2 separate regions of the Homo sapiens genome follow, and region 2 is linked to region 1. The links are contacts of gene promoters, found by promoter capture Hi-C in human tissues and cell types (Jung and others, 2019). All regions are on one chromosome and are shown on one strand. Each heading gives the region's core, a stretch centred on a gene start or on the middle of the fragment in contact. The rest is flanking DNA. Distances are from core to core; before and after follow the strand shown. Region 1 holds the start of MVB12B (multivesicular body subunit 12B). Region 2 overlaps GAPVD1 (GTPase activating protein and VPS9 domains 1).

Region 1 (7,325 bases), core at 3,351-5,850:
CAAGTCTTTCCAAAGACAATATACGAATAGCCAACCAGCACCCAAAAAGATGCTCAACATCACTTGCCACTAGGGAAATGCAAATCCAAATGACATCTCACCTTATACTCATTACGATGGCTACTACCAAAAACAAACAAACATACAAACAAAATAACTGTTCGCAAGCATGTGAAGAGATTGGAAACTCTGGCACACTGCTGGTGGGAATGTAAAATGGCACAGCCACTATGTTATGGAAAACAGTGTGGTGGTTCCGCAGAAAATTATAAATAGAATTACCATATGATCCAGCAATTCCACTTCTGGGTATCTACACAAAAGAATTTAAATCGGGGTCTCAAAGAGAATTGTAGACCCATGTTCAGAGCAACATTATTCACAATAGCCAAAAGACAGAAGCAACCCAAGCATCCATCTATGGATGAATGAACAAAATATGGTCCACATATTCAATGGAGTATTATTCAGCCTTAAAAAGGAAGGAAATTCTGAAATATGCTACAACATGATGAACCTTGAGGACAGTATGCTAAACTAAACAAGCCAGTCACAAAAAGACAAATACTGTATGATCCACTAGGATCACACAGTTTGACTACCTAGGGTAGTCAAACTCACAGAAACACAAAGCAGAATGGTGGTTGCCAGGGGTCAGGAAAGGGGGAAATGCAAAGTTGTTTTATGAGCACAGCGTTTCGGTTTTGCAAGATGAAAAGTTCTGGAGCTTAGTTGCACCACAGTGTGAATGTGCATAATGCCACCGATCTGTGCACTTAAAGATGAGTAGGATGGTCAATTTTATGTTACGTGTATTTAACACTTTTTTAGAAAGCATCAAGAACTGTAGGTCTCTAATTTCAGTAAGAAGAAGTATAACCCAAGGTGTCTGTTAAGACTGCAGATTCCAGGTCCCGTTCCCCAGAGATTCTGACTCAATAAAGTCTGAGTATGAGGTCCTAGAATCTGCATTTTCATCAACACCACAGGCATATTTAGTGCATTACAAACTCATTTATTTCTCTCTTCTAAAGGATCAGGGGATATTCTTTTGAATATTCTGCTCTGCTGATTAGAATCTGTTTTTTTTAAGTGTGTGTGTATGTGTGTGTGTGTGTGTGTGTAAAGAAAGAAAGAACAAACTCATGTTGACTCCTGCCACAGGTCCAACAAGATGGCCCTCCAGTCCTAAGGGAAGTATGAGCCACAAAGCTACTATGTGCAACCCCTGGGCTCCAGGCCCACAGGGCTCTCACATTTCTGCCTGGACAAGCTCTGCATCTCGCCAGAAGCGTGTCAAGTAAACCAAATGCATGCCCACAGGATGTCCCCAACAAGGGAGGTAATGTCAAGCACACTCTGCAGTGGCTTTGCCTCCCAGGCAGCCGGAGACAGGAGACCTGACTCTGGCAAACCCACTGCAACTAGTGCAGACAGCGCAGGGAAGCCACGATTCCCTAGGGCAGCCCAGCAAGCAGAAGGCCAAGGAGAGCCGGGGTTGGGGGCGGGGTGGGTTGGGGAAATGCTGGCCAGGGTGGGCCTCGGTGAGAGCCAGAGCAGCCTGGGGAGAAGGAGTCTATTCAAGAAACCCAGGCCTCCCCTCCACAACCCAACCTGCAAAGGAGGCTCTGCAACACAGTGTGCTCAGCCTAACCACATCCAGCCATGTAGTCATTTGTTATCTTCATCATCATAATAGCACCTTCGACTTTTCCCATGCTTGACTCCAGCACCATCATTATTTTGCAGTGTGGCAAGGATGTCTCCCTTTGAGTATGGAGCACTTCCAGCAAACTCAGACAGAGGGGCCTATGCCATTTGGATTCTGATCCCCCCAGGAGAAGATCCTCCATGAAATGGATAGAGACTACACTTCTCCCTTACCCCTTCCAAGGCCCTGAGAGGGCATCCAGCAGTGTGCTCACATGGTGGCGTGGTTCTGTAACATGTACAAACACAGGATATTCTTGTATTCTTTTTCTTAATGCTCTCCCCGCAACAAACTGTATAAACATCGGACCTGAAAAAAACACCATGATCTGCTGCTGGATGCTGAATCGCACACTTAAATTTCATGAGGACCGCCACCTCCTGCAGTGCCAAGTGCAGTCACATACATTAGCTCCTTCAGCTCTTCTTGACTGATTAGCTTTATGGGGTAGGCTTTGTTCTTAAGACACTTTTACATTACAGAAATGGGGATTCAGAAAGGTTCTGTGACTCCCCTAGGGTCACCTGGGGTCCAGGAGGTAGCCTGAGAGTCAAACTCAAGCTCCTAAATCCAAGTCCAGTGTTCTTTCTACTATACCATCACTTCCTGGTTGTCCCGTTGAAGACTAAATAATAGGCCAGGCGTGGTGGCTCATGCCTGTAATCCCAGGAATTTGGGAGGCCAAGGTGGGAGGATTACTTAAGCTCTGGTGTTCAAGACCAGCTTGGGCAACATAGCAAGACCCCAACTCTACTAAAAATAATAATAATTTAAAAAAACAGCCGAGCGTGGTGGCAGGCACCTATACTTGGGAGGCTGAGGTGGGAGAATCGCTTGAGTCCAGGAGTTCAAGGCTGCAGTGAGCCATGATGGTACCACTGCACTCCAGCCTGAGTGACAGTGAGACCCTGTCTCAAAAACAAACAAAAACCAAAAAAAAAGCAGACAGAAAGAAACTCTAAAAATAAATAAATAAGCTACTCCTCTCATTCATCCGTTAACAAACCTCTCATAATGACCCCTACCGTTTACTGACTTCTTGCCATGTAGCAGGCACTGAGCTAGACTTTTCTTGCAAAATTTCATTTACATCACGCCATAATCCCATGAGATGAATACTATCATTAGTTTCACTCTACAGATGAGGAAACTGAAACTCAGAAAAGTTCAATAATTTGTCCAAGGGCACAAAGTAAGTAGGAAAGCCAAGACTTAAGCTGAGGGCTAATTCTAAACTCCCTGCACATAACCATGGCACAACATTCCAGTTGGAAGTGGTAAAAGGTCCCTAGCAGGATGGAGACAGGGCAAGAAAAATGCCTTGAACCTAAATTAGGAGTGTGACCTAAAGCCTAGAAGGAAGGAATGAAAAATATGGATTACAGAAGGTAAGTTTAGGTTTAAATGAACCAGTAATCGCCACGTCAACTGCTTCCCATGGGGCTTGGAGCCCGGGTCCCAAGCAGAAGCCTCATCTCTCTGAGGCCCTATTTAAAGATTCTGAGCATGGTACAGTATCTCCAAGGACCCCACATGATTTCTAACAAGCAAGAAAGGTGTCACCATCTACTGTAACTAAACATCCTAGCACATTGAGTTTTTCAGTTAGTCAAGGCTTCACAGAGCTTATTTTTTAACTCTCTAAGCTTTCCTGGTGCCGCTGATAAGATTTCCCAGCCCTGTTAAAACGAGATGAGATCCAGCCAGCTGTCGAGAAATGTACAATGAGATTATACTGAGAAGGAACCACGAGAGACAAAGGCCCCTAAGAGGAGCTGGTCTGCTGTCTGCTTTTGTGGCAGCAATCGGAGTGGGCTCTGGTTCTTGGGTGGGGGCAGGAAGCAGGGAAGGGGCAACCACCATTTGCCTTTTGCCCTCCTGTGGTCTTCCTCAGTGCCTTGTGCAAGAGGTGTTGAGGGGCAGGGAACAGAAGAGTCTCATCTTTCATGGTGAGAAGGGCTGCTGATTTAGAACAGTTGTGTGTTGGTAACAAAGAGGACAAAAGATGCTCTTGGGTCTACCCCGTTCCCTGGTGCCTGCCTCTGAGGATGTGATGTCCCCTGGTGCCATGCCTCAGCTCTTGTCCCAGCCCCTGCTCCTCCCGTCTCGCTGGTGTTGGAGTCACTGTAGGGTGCTCGACGTGCCCACCATGTTCCTGGATGGGTGCTCTGGGTCTCGGGTACCCAGGCTGGGCATGTCACCTTCCAGACAGGTGCCTGAGGGTTTAGGTGTCCTCTCTGCTGTGCCCAGGTCACAGAGGCAGTGATGCTCCTGGGGCAGGTGCACGTTGGTCTGCACCCACGTGACCAGAGAGAGCAGGACCCCAGGCCAGGCCGGTCAAACGATTGACTGTTCCCAGTCTGTGCCCAGGTGGGCCGCCTCCCTCTCACGCGGGCAGAGGTGGCTCTCGGCGCCCCTCACCTGCCCGGGCCTTGGGGGCGCTGCTGGCACTCGGGTCCCCCAGCTTCTCCCGCCTCTCGCCGCCAGGCCGAGCCCGGGCACCGGCAGCCGCGGCGCGCTCGGGGCTCTGCAAAGGCCGCCCGGGCCTGTCCCCGCCGCGGGCCGGGCACGGAGCCCGCAGGCCTCGGCGCGGCCCGGCTCCTCCCGTCCGCCCGCCCCTCGGCCGGGGGCCCGCGCCCGCCCGCCCGCCCTCCCGGCTGCAGGGCCGGCTCCGCCGAGCCTCCGCGGCGCCCGGGCCTCACTTAACTGTTCCCCGCTGGGGCGGCGGCGGCGGTGGCTGCGGCGGCGGCGGGTCCCGGCTCCGTCTCACGCAGAAGCAGCTTCTCATCGCCCGGGCGGCGCGGGAGGGGCCGGGCCCGGGGCCCAGGCGGCAGGAGCCGGCGCCGCAGCTCGAGCGCGAGCCTCACCGAGAGCGGCGGCGGCGGCGGCGGCGGCGGAGGGGCGGGGCGCGGCCTGGCGGCGGCGGCGACAACGGCAGTGGCGGCGGCGGCTCCCTCCGCGGGCCGCGGCGGCGGGCCGGGCTCCGGGCCTCCCGGCGCTGGCGCTGGTTCAGGATCGGGGGAGGCGCCCGGCGCCCGAGGCTGGCTCGGGCGGGAGGAGGGAGAGGGAGCCCTGGCGTCCCGAGCCCGCGCCGCCGCCCCGGCCGGCACCCCGCCTCCCCAGCCTCCCCCTCGACCCAGCCCGTCAGCCGCAGGCAGGGCCCCGGTGCGCCCACCCGGGCCTCCCCGAGCCCGCCGGCGACCCCAGTCCAGCCTCAGGCCCCCGGGAGCCCACGGCCTCTAGAGCCTGGGGCATCGATGGTCCCCGCCCCCAGGCTGGTCTTTTCCAGGGACCCTCAGCCCACTTAGCTCTCGTAGGCCTCGCTGTACGCAAGACCGGTCTTCCGCTCGGCTGCAGATCCCTGGAAGCCCCCAGGCCCTCAGGCTAGAAGTTGGACCCTTCTAAGGACTCTCCGCCCACCCAGCCATTCTAGGCTTCACTGAACCCTAGAATCCTTCAGCTCATCTTCCCCCACCCCCCAGCTCACCTAAGGTGAGCTCAGCCAGTCGTCTCAAACTAACCCCAATTGCCTAGCAATTCTCTTATATTAGTTAGATGATTTATCCCCAGAAGCCTAGAATCAGGTTTATGGGGCCAGCCTCAGGCAAGCATCTAGAAGAAGTTTTTAGCAGGAGTCCTACCCTGCAGTACTTGGGGAAGGCATAAGCCAAGGATAAAATGGAGCTGGATGGTTGGGGGAGGGTCCAGAGCTTGACCCTCAGCTAGAGTGGCTGGTAGGAAAGGCGGACTCTGCGCCTTAACCAACCATGCCCCCCACACCGCCCAGCCAGGCACCCCAGGCAGAGGCCAGCGTGTGCAAGATTTGAAAGGTTTCCTGCCAGGAGGCTGGAGCATTCGTTAGGACTTGAGGACCATGCAGGAGTGATCAGCATTGATTTGCTAATGCATTGAGTCTCATTTTCACACATTCTAGGCTTTTCCATAATAGCTGTTTGATCCTAAAGAGAAGGGTGCCAAGCAGAATGGGCTGTCGGGGGAAACATCCTGTAGGGAAGCCATGCACGTGTGCATTCCCAGTGTCTTCACTACTCAGAAATGCCATGGGTTCAGATGGCTTTACAGCAAGCCTTATCCTCCCATCAGGGCACAGATCATCCCTATGTTACTTAAACTGTTACACAGGAAAAAATAAACAAAAGAAACAAAAATTTTTATTTCATTTCCCAAGTTTAGCATAACCCTGATACCAAAATCCAACAGACAATACCAAAAAGAACTGCAGATGACTAACCTAGAACACGAGTCCCCAGAGAATTTAATATTTATTTTTTGAAAATGGGCTTCTGTGGGCAACTTGAGAAAGTGCTGCATGCCGTTTATAGTGTACCTTTTGGAGAATCACGATAAGTATTCGTATATTAAGGAAGGCCTCTGTGAAGTCCAGGAGTAAAGAAACCTGTTTGGTTTGTTTAACCTGGCATTTCCCAAACTCATCTGAGCCAGGACCACCTTCTAAAGCTCACTGATAAATCCTCAATATGTGAATCTGCACTATATATTTAAGTATATAATAGTCGTAAAACTATTAAATACAATTTTAGCCATTTGAATCCAGTTTACTATTAAAGCAACTGAAAACCCACCATGATCAAGCAAGATTTATTCCAGAGGCGCAAGAAAAATCCAACATTAGGGAATTTGTAAATGCATTGCATTGTTAAAGGAAAACAAATTACAGGATATTATCAATGGGATAGATGCTTTAAAAGTATTTTATAAACTTCAAAACTAATGACCCATAAATTTCTAAAAACTCTTAGTAAACTATTATAGGAAGAAAGTTTAAACTTTTAACATGACAAAGTTTATCAGAAGCCATCAACAAACATATTTAATGGTGAAACACTAAAGGTATTCTCATGTAAGTCAGTCAAAAGGATGCCTGCTATAATGGCTATAGAATAAAGCCAATGCAATAAGATAAGAAAAATAAATAAGAAATATAAATATTAGAAGGGAAGAGATAAAATTGTCATTATTTGCTTATGATTTAAGTGTTTCCCAAAAAGTAAAAATAAAAAAAATCAACTAAAAATCATAGAGACTTTGGTAAGGTGGTCAGTTATAAGATAAACACCAAAATCAATGGTTTTCCTAAATGTTAAGGGAGAAGCCTTCTCCTTCCTTCTTCTTCTTCTTCTTCTTCTTCTTATTATTATTATTATTATTATTATTATTATTCTTTTTTTTCTTCCTTACCCTGTCTTATGGTATTGAAGGGAGAAGCCTTCTTTTCCATATAGAGGGACTTCCATTAGAATAAGACTTCTGGCCTCTCTCCACTCTAAGGGAAGATGAGTGAGTTTGGAAAAAGTGGACAAGAATAGATGCTTCTGAGTTCTCTTTTTGGATTTGGCTGACTGCAGAGAGCAAATATTTCCATGCGCTCTCACTGTGGGTTAAGTGAACCTGTTTCAGGGACAGAGTGATACTATTCTCCTGCACCACCCGCCACTACACAAATAAATCTACTCAATTCAGGGAGAAATATAGCAAGCCCACTTAGCTACAGAGCAAAAGCTACTTTTTCCAGTCAGCTTCATTAAAAATTAAGGTAGTATTTTTGTCTTATGTCTCTTTCCTGTGTCTATGC
Region 2 (7,392 bases), core at 4,025-6,524, 1.0 Mb after region 1:
ACGCCTCTAATCCCAACACTTTGGGAGGCTGAGGTGGGCAGATCACCTGAGGTCAGGAGTTTGAGAGCAACCTGGCCAACATAAAGTGAAACCCTGTCTCTACTAAAAATACAAAAATTAGCTGGGCATAGTGGCATATGCCTGTGGTCCCAGCTACTAGGGAAGCTGAGGCAGGAGAATCACTTGAACAGGGGAGGCGGAGGCTGCAGTGAGAGCGGCCTCCCAAAGTGCTGGGTGTATCTTCTTAATGACTATTTATCAACATATAATGTCTTTGTCTTTTGTAATCTTTCTGCTCCTGAGACTAGATAATCTCAATTGATCCATCTTCAAGTTCACTGATTTTTCTGCCTGTACAAATCTGCTGTTGAACCCCTCTAGTGTATTTTTCATTCCAGTTATTATACTTTTCAACTCCAGAATTTCTATATGGTTCCTTCTGTAATTTCTACCCCTTTATTGATATCTTCTATTTGGTGAGACCTTGTTCTCTTGGTTTTCTTTAGTTCTTTGTCCGTGGTTTCCATAGCTCTTTAAGTATATTAAAAAAAAAATTGATTTAAAGTCTTGAGTAAGTCCAATGTCTGTGCTTCATCAAGGCCATTTTCTTTCTTTTCTTTCTTTTCTTTTTTTTTTTTTTTTTGAGACAGAGTTTCGCTCTTGTTGCCCTGGCTGGAGTACAACAGCACAATCTCAGCTCACCATAACCTCTACATCCCAAGTTCAAGCGATTCTCCTACCTCAGCCTCCCGAGTAACTGGGATTACAGGCATGTGCCACCAGGCCTGGCTAATTTTGTATTTTTAGTAGAGACAGGGTTTCTCCATGTTGCTCAGGCTGGTCTCAAACTCCCAACTTCAGGTGATCCACCCACCTCAGCCTCCCAGAGTGCTGGGATTACAGGCGTGAGCCACCGCCCGGCCATCAAGGACGTTTTCTTTTTTTTTTTTTGAGACAGAGTCTCGCTGTATTGCCCAGGCTAGAGTGCAATGGCGCAATCTTGGCTCACTGCAACCTCCGCCTCCCAGGTTCAAGCGATTCTCCTGCCTCAGCCTCCTGAGTAGCTGATATTACAGGTGCACACCACCACGCCTGGCTAATTTTTGTATTTTTAGTCGAGACGGGGTTTCACCATGTTGGTCAGGCTGGTCTCGAACTCCTGACCTCATGAACAGCCCACCTTCGCCTCCCAAAGTGCTGGGATTACGGCCATGAACCACTGCGCCTGGCCCATCAAGGACATTTTCTATTAACTTTTTTCCTGTGAAAGGGCCATATTTTTGTTTCTTTATATGCCTCATAAGTTTTGCTGAAAAGCAGACATTTTAAATATTATAAAGTGATCATTAAAAAGTCAGGAAACAACAGATGCTGGAGAGAATGTGGAGAAACAGGAACACTTTCACACTGTTGGTGGGAGTGTAAATTAGTTCAACTGTTATGGAAGACAGTGTGGCAATTCCTCAAGGATCTAGAACCAGAAATACCATCTGACCCAGCAATCCCATTACTGGGTGTATATACCCAAAGGATTATAAATCATTCTACTATAAAGACACATGCACACATACGTTTATTGAAGCACTATTCACAATAGCAAAGACTTGGAACCAACCCAAATGCCCATCAACAATAGACTGGATAATGAAAACGTGGCACATATACACCATGGAATACTATGCAGCCATAAAAAAGGATTAGTTCATGTCCTTTGCAGGGATACATGTGCCATAGTGGTTTGCAGCAATAAAAAAGGATTAGTTCATGTCCTTTGCAGGGATACAGATGAAGCTGGAAACCATCATTCTCAGCAAACTAATGCAGGAACAGAAAACCAAACACCGCATGTTCTCCCTCATAAGTGGGAGTTGAACAATGAGAATACATGGACACAGGGAGGGGAACATCATACACTGGGGCCTGTCGCAGGGGTAGGGGGTTAGGGGAGGGATATCATTAGGAGAAATATCTAATGTAGATCTATGGCACATGTATACCTATGTAACAAACCTGCACGTTCTGCACATGTATCCCAGAACTTATAGTATAATAAAAAAATTAAAATAAAAAATAAACAAATAAATGTTACAAAGTGGCAATTCTGGAAATCAGATTATATACCCTTAACCCCTAGTTGGTTGTTGCTGCTTGTTGTAGTGACTATTTAATGATCTCTCTAAATTTTCTGTCATGTGTGGCCTCTGAAGTTTCTGTTCTGTTAGCTTAGTGGTGAGCACGTGATTTGGCAGATTTAACACCTGGAATAACAAAACAAAACATTTCCAAGTCTTTGAAGATTGGCTCTGTTTTGGGGAACTTCAACACTTAGCCAGGCAGTTTGCAACTGTACCTTAGCCTTCACTTCCTACTTGGGTTCAGCCTGAAGGTTACCCAGCAGTGAGAGCTTGGATCTTCTAGGGTCTTTCCTGAGCACATGACCAGCCCTGGGTATGTGTACAACCTGGTAGATTCCCCAGAACACGTGGGAGCTTTTCAAAGCCTTTGTGCCCCCTGGTGTCTCCTTCCCAAGCCTCTTCCTTCATAAGCATTTGGATCTGTATGCGGATTGCCCTGACTGTTATCCCTTAATGCAAGCAGAAGCAACTAATATATCTGCTTTTCAATACTTTTGACAAATGCCACCTGTGTAGCTGCCTCGGCCCTGGGAAAGATCAGAGGCAGGCAAAACAAAGCCAAGCCTTTGAGACGATCTTTCAGGACCTACCAGACAGATCAAAATACACAACCATGCTGCTTTCAGAATAAGGTCCACATTCCTCCCTCAAGTACCAGCACACTGCACAGTAATATAAGCTGTCTTCAAAGCAGCCACTGGGCTGGGGGTTGAAGATGGTAACAGGGTAGGATCACAGAGCTCTCTTAACAAAATTCAGCAGTCTTTTTCTTCATTAAGCATTCCTTTGTTGTTAAAAGTTTTTTATTAGATTCCAGAGTTCCAAATAAGTTGATTCTGACAGTTTTTGCCAGCTTATTTGTGTGTGTGTGTGGAGGATGGAGTTTCGAAGATTGTTGGTCTTCTTCCCTATGGGGTATCATGTCATAGTCCCAAACACAGCTTTACCAACCACCATCACTTTATCAATCACTAAAACTGGCCTCTTCTTTCTAGCCCATTTTCTTGAATAACAAGCAATCACTGTTGAATATAAGAAGCTGCTACTGGCAGGGCACGATGGCTCACACCTGTAATCCCAGCACTTTGGGAGGCCGAGGTGGGCGGATCACGAGGTCAGGAGATCGAGACTATCCTGGCTAACATGGTGAAACCCTGTCTCTACTAAAAATACAAAAAAATAGCCGGGCGTGGTGGCGGGCGCCTGTAGTCCCAGCTGCTAGGGAGGCTGAGACAGGAGAATGGCGTGAACCCGGGAGGTGGACCTCGCAGTGAGCCGAGATCGCACCACTGCACTCCAGCCTGGGTGACAGAGTGAGACTCCGTCTCAAAAAAAAAAAAAAAAGAAGCTGCTACTTTTTCAGGAGGTCACAATTTCACAATTCTATGAGAAGAGACTCCTATCTTTAGGGAGTCAAGATTTCTTCTTCTTGTCTTTTTGTTTCTTTTTTCTGTTTTTTGTTTTGTTTTGTTTTGTTTTGAGACAGAGTTTCACTCTTGTTGCCCAGGCTGGAGTGCAATGGGGCGATCTCAGCTCACTGCAACCTCCACGTCCCGGGTTCAAGCGATTCTCCTGTCTCAGCCTCCCAAGTAGCTGGGATTACAGGCATGCGCCACCACACCCAGCTAATTTTTATTTTTAGTAAAGATGGGGTTTTACTATGTTGGTCAGGCTGGTCTCGAACTCCTGACCTCGGGGGATCCACCCACCTCGGCCTCCCAAAGTGCTGGGATTATAGGTGTGAGCCACCAGGCCTGACCTTCTTTTCATTCACCTTTAAGCCAAGCTTTTTGTTACAAATATATTAAAAATGATTCCCAAGCCTCAAACTCCATTTCTTAAAAAAATTTATTTTCTTAGTTTTCCATTATTTCTTCCATTTTTTCCTGACCAGCCAAAGAATACAACATGTATCTCAAAATACATCTCAACATATTTTTGGCTCTATAATGCAGGAATACTACTAGTATACCACTAGAAAGAAAATGAACACAAAACATTTCCTACAAGTCACTGGAAAAGTCTCTTTAATTTCCATACCACAATCTCCTGGCTTCATCTCTCTTCTGCTACTGCCTGGAAAATTCCTTATGCTTGGACCTATTCACCAACCTCAGTGCCACAGATGTATTAATGTGAAGGGCCTCACAACTGTTCACAGGGAGCTTAGCATGTGATGGTGTGTCATGGTGGGACCACTGAAGATAACAAAGAATTAAGCATTAAATTCATTGGCTGGGTGCAGTGATTCACACCTGTAATCCCAGCACTTTGGGAGGCCAAGGTGGGTGGATCACTGGAGGTCAGAAGTTCGAGACCAGTCTGGCCAACATGGCAAAACCCCGTCTCTACTAAAAATACAAAGTTAGCCGGGTGTGGTGGCACATGCCTGTAAGACCAGCAACTCAGGAGGCTGAGGCAGGAGAATTGCTTGAACCCAGGAGGCAGAGGCTGTGGTGAGCAAAGATCGCACCATTGCACTCCAGCTGTGCAACAGAGTGACACTCCATGTCAAAAAAAAAGAAAAAAATGGCTGGGCACGGTGGCTCACGCCTGTAATCCCAACACTTTGGAAGGCCGAGGCAGGTGGATCACGAGGTCAGGAGATCGAGACCATCCTGGCTAACACGGTGGAACCCCTTCTCTACTGAAAATACAAAAAATTAGCCGAGCGTGGTGGCGGGCACCTGTAGTCCCAGCTACTTGGGAGGCTAAGGCAGGAGAACAGTGTGAATCCGGGAGGCAGAGCTTGCAGTGAGCTGAGATCGTGCCACTGCACTCCAGCCTAGGTGACAGAGTGAGACTCTGTCTCAAAAAAAAAAAAAAGAAAAAGAAAAAGAAAAAAAAAAATTCATTGCTAGGATCTGAATGTTTGTGCTCCCCCAAAATCTGTATGTTGAAATTCTAACCCCCAAGGTGATGGTATTTGGAGATCGGGCCTTTGGAGAGGTGATTAGGTCATGAAGGCAGGGCCCTCACAAATGGAATAAGTGCCCTTATAAAATAGCCCAACCAGCCAGGCGCGGTGGCTCACACCTGTAATCTCAGCACTTTGGGAGGCAAAGGCAGGCGGATCACCTCAGTTGGGGAGTTTGAGACCAGCCTGACCAACATGTAGAAACCCTGTCTCTACTAAAAATACAAAATTAGCTGGGCATGGTGATGCATGCCTGTAATCCCAGCTACTCAGGAGGCTGAGGCAGGAGAATTGCTTGAACCCGGGATTGGGAGGTTGCAGTGAGCTGAGATCGTGCTATTGCACTCCAGCCTGGGCAACAAGAGTGACACTCCATCTCAAAAAAAAATAAGCCCAAAGACACAGCAAGAATACATCATCTATGAACCAGTAAACAGATCCTTACAAGACACTGAATCTGCCTTGACTATAGACTTCCTGGCCTCTACAAATGTGAGAAATAAATATCTGTTGTTTATAAGCCACCCAACCTCTGGTGTTTTGTTACAGCAGCCTGTATGGACTAAGACATGAATATTGATTTATAGAAGCAACTGATTCATACCTCATTTTCTGACATCATCCCTGGAGTAAGCTGGGGACCTGTACCTAAGGAAATGACCAACACCTCTTCTGGTTGCACCTCCTGAATGGTTTCTTGAGATGATCCTTCATGGTCCATATGTAGGTCCATTAGCATATTGGTGCGGCTTCTGCTCCGAGTTGCTAATAAAAAATTTCAAATAAAATAATTTAGAGAAATAGACAAATGAAGAAAATGGTATGCTAAATATGAATATATTTTCTATTAGTGCAGAACATTTGCACATGCACAAGAGTGGTAAAAAATATAAATAAGAAAAAACAAAACAAAACAAAACAAACCAGATCCTCCCAGTTACTCTACTGACTAATAAAGATTCTCCTTCAAAACTGATAATCAAGAACAATGATCCAAGTGCATCTGACAGGAAGTGCCACACAGATGATCACATCTGCAGAACAGCAAACATGTCACAATAAATTTAAGACTTGGAGTGACAAGAAAAGCATTACCTCATTTCTTATCTTTTTAAGATACCTTCACTATTTTTCCTATAAATTGATGTAACTGCTACAGGTCTCCCATACCAATAACTGAGCTTACAAGCATTAGAAAATTTCATATGAGGGATTACTCCTGTAATCCTAGCACTTTGGGAGGCTGAGGCAGGTGGATTGCCTGAATTCAGGAGTTCGAGACCAGCCAGGGCAACACGGTGAAACCCCATCTCTACTAAAATACAAAAAATTAGCCAGGCATGGTGACATGCACCTGTAATCCCAGCTACTCGGGGGGCTGAGACAGGAGAATCACTTGAACCAGGCAGACGGAGACTGAAGTGGGCCAAGTTTGCACCACTGCACTCCAGCCTGGGCATCAGAGTGAGACTCCATCTCAAAAAAAAAAAAAGAAACAATAAAGAAAATTTTATATGAAAACCTAATAGCCACATAAATAGGATACTTTAAGTTAGGCAACTGTTAACAAAACCAGAATCAGTGTTGGTTTTTTTGAGACGGAGTTTCACTCTTGTTGCCCAGGCTACAGTGCAATGGCGCAGTCTCGGCTCATTGCGATCACCGCCTCCTGGGTTCAAGCAATTCTCCTGCCTCAGCCTCCCAAGTAGCTGGGATTACAGGCAGACACCACCACACTTGGTGAATTTTGTACTTTTAGTAGAGACGGGGTTTTGCCATGTTGCTCAGGCTGGTCTTGAACTCCTGATCTCAGGTGATCCACGCACCTTGGCTTCCCCAAGTGCTGGGATTACAGGCATGAGCCACCGTGCCCAGCCCAGAATCAGTTTTTAAATGTACCTTCCCCCCCTGAAATGCATTAATGTCTTTTCAAAGATAAAAGAGAGAAAATTTATTTATGTTTGGAGAAGAGGTCCTTTCTGCTTTGGAAACAGTATAAATTAATAAAGGCTTCAATTATTTTTGTTTCTTTCCCCTGTGTATAAGCAGATGAAAAATATTTTTTTCTAAAATAATTGCTGGGTGTAGTGGCTCACACCTGTAATCCTAGCACTCTGGGAGGCTGAGGCAGGTGGATCACCTGAGGTCGGGAGTTTGAGACCAGCCTGGCCAACATGGTGAAACCCCGTCTCTACTAAAAATACAAAAAATTAGCCGGGCATGGTGGCAGGCACCTGTAATCCCAACTACTTGGGAGGCTGAGGTAGGAGAATCACTTGAACCCGGGAGGCGGAGGTTGCAGTGAGCCGAGATCGCAGTATTGCACTCCAGCCTGCGCGA

What was found. Contacts are between HindIII fragments. The study calls those that stand out against the background at their distance.
Region 2: a fragment that was not itself captured here is called in contact with the fragment with the promoter of MVB12B in region 1 in 1 of the 25 tissues and cell types used here (mesendoderm cells).

The regions. Positions count from the first base shown.
Region 1 is chr9:126,324,104-126,331,428 of GRCh38, reverse strand. It overlaps MVB12B (multivesicular body subunit 12B), which reads right to left and starts at 4,600. Exons shown (of 10, transcript NM_033446.3): 1 at 4,419-4,600. The coding sequence starts at 4,499. RefSeq lists an enhancer at 3,383-4,034 and a silencer at 4,476-4,615. The HindIII fragment of the contact is 8,205 bases long and covers 1,366-7,325 here.
Region 2 is chr9:125,310,877-125,318,268 of GRCh38, reverse strand. GAPVD1 (GTPase activating protein and VPS9 domains 1) reads right to left here. Exons shown (of 28, transcript NM_001282680.3): 9 at 5,657-5,817. Among named protein-coding and RNA genes, the nearest start is that of GAPVD1, 53 kb to the right of the region's middle. The HindIII fragment of the contact is 9,652 bases long and covers 449-7,392 here.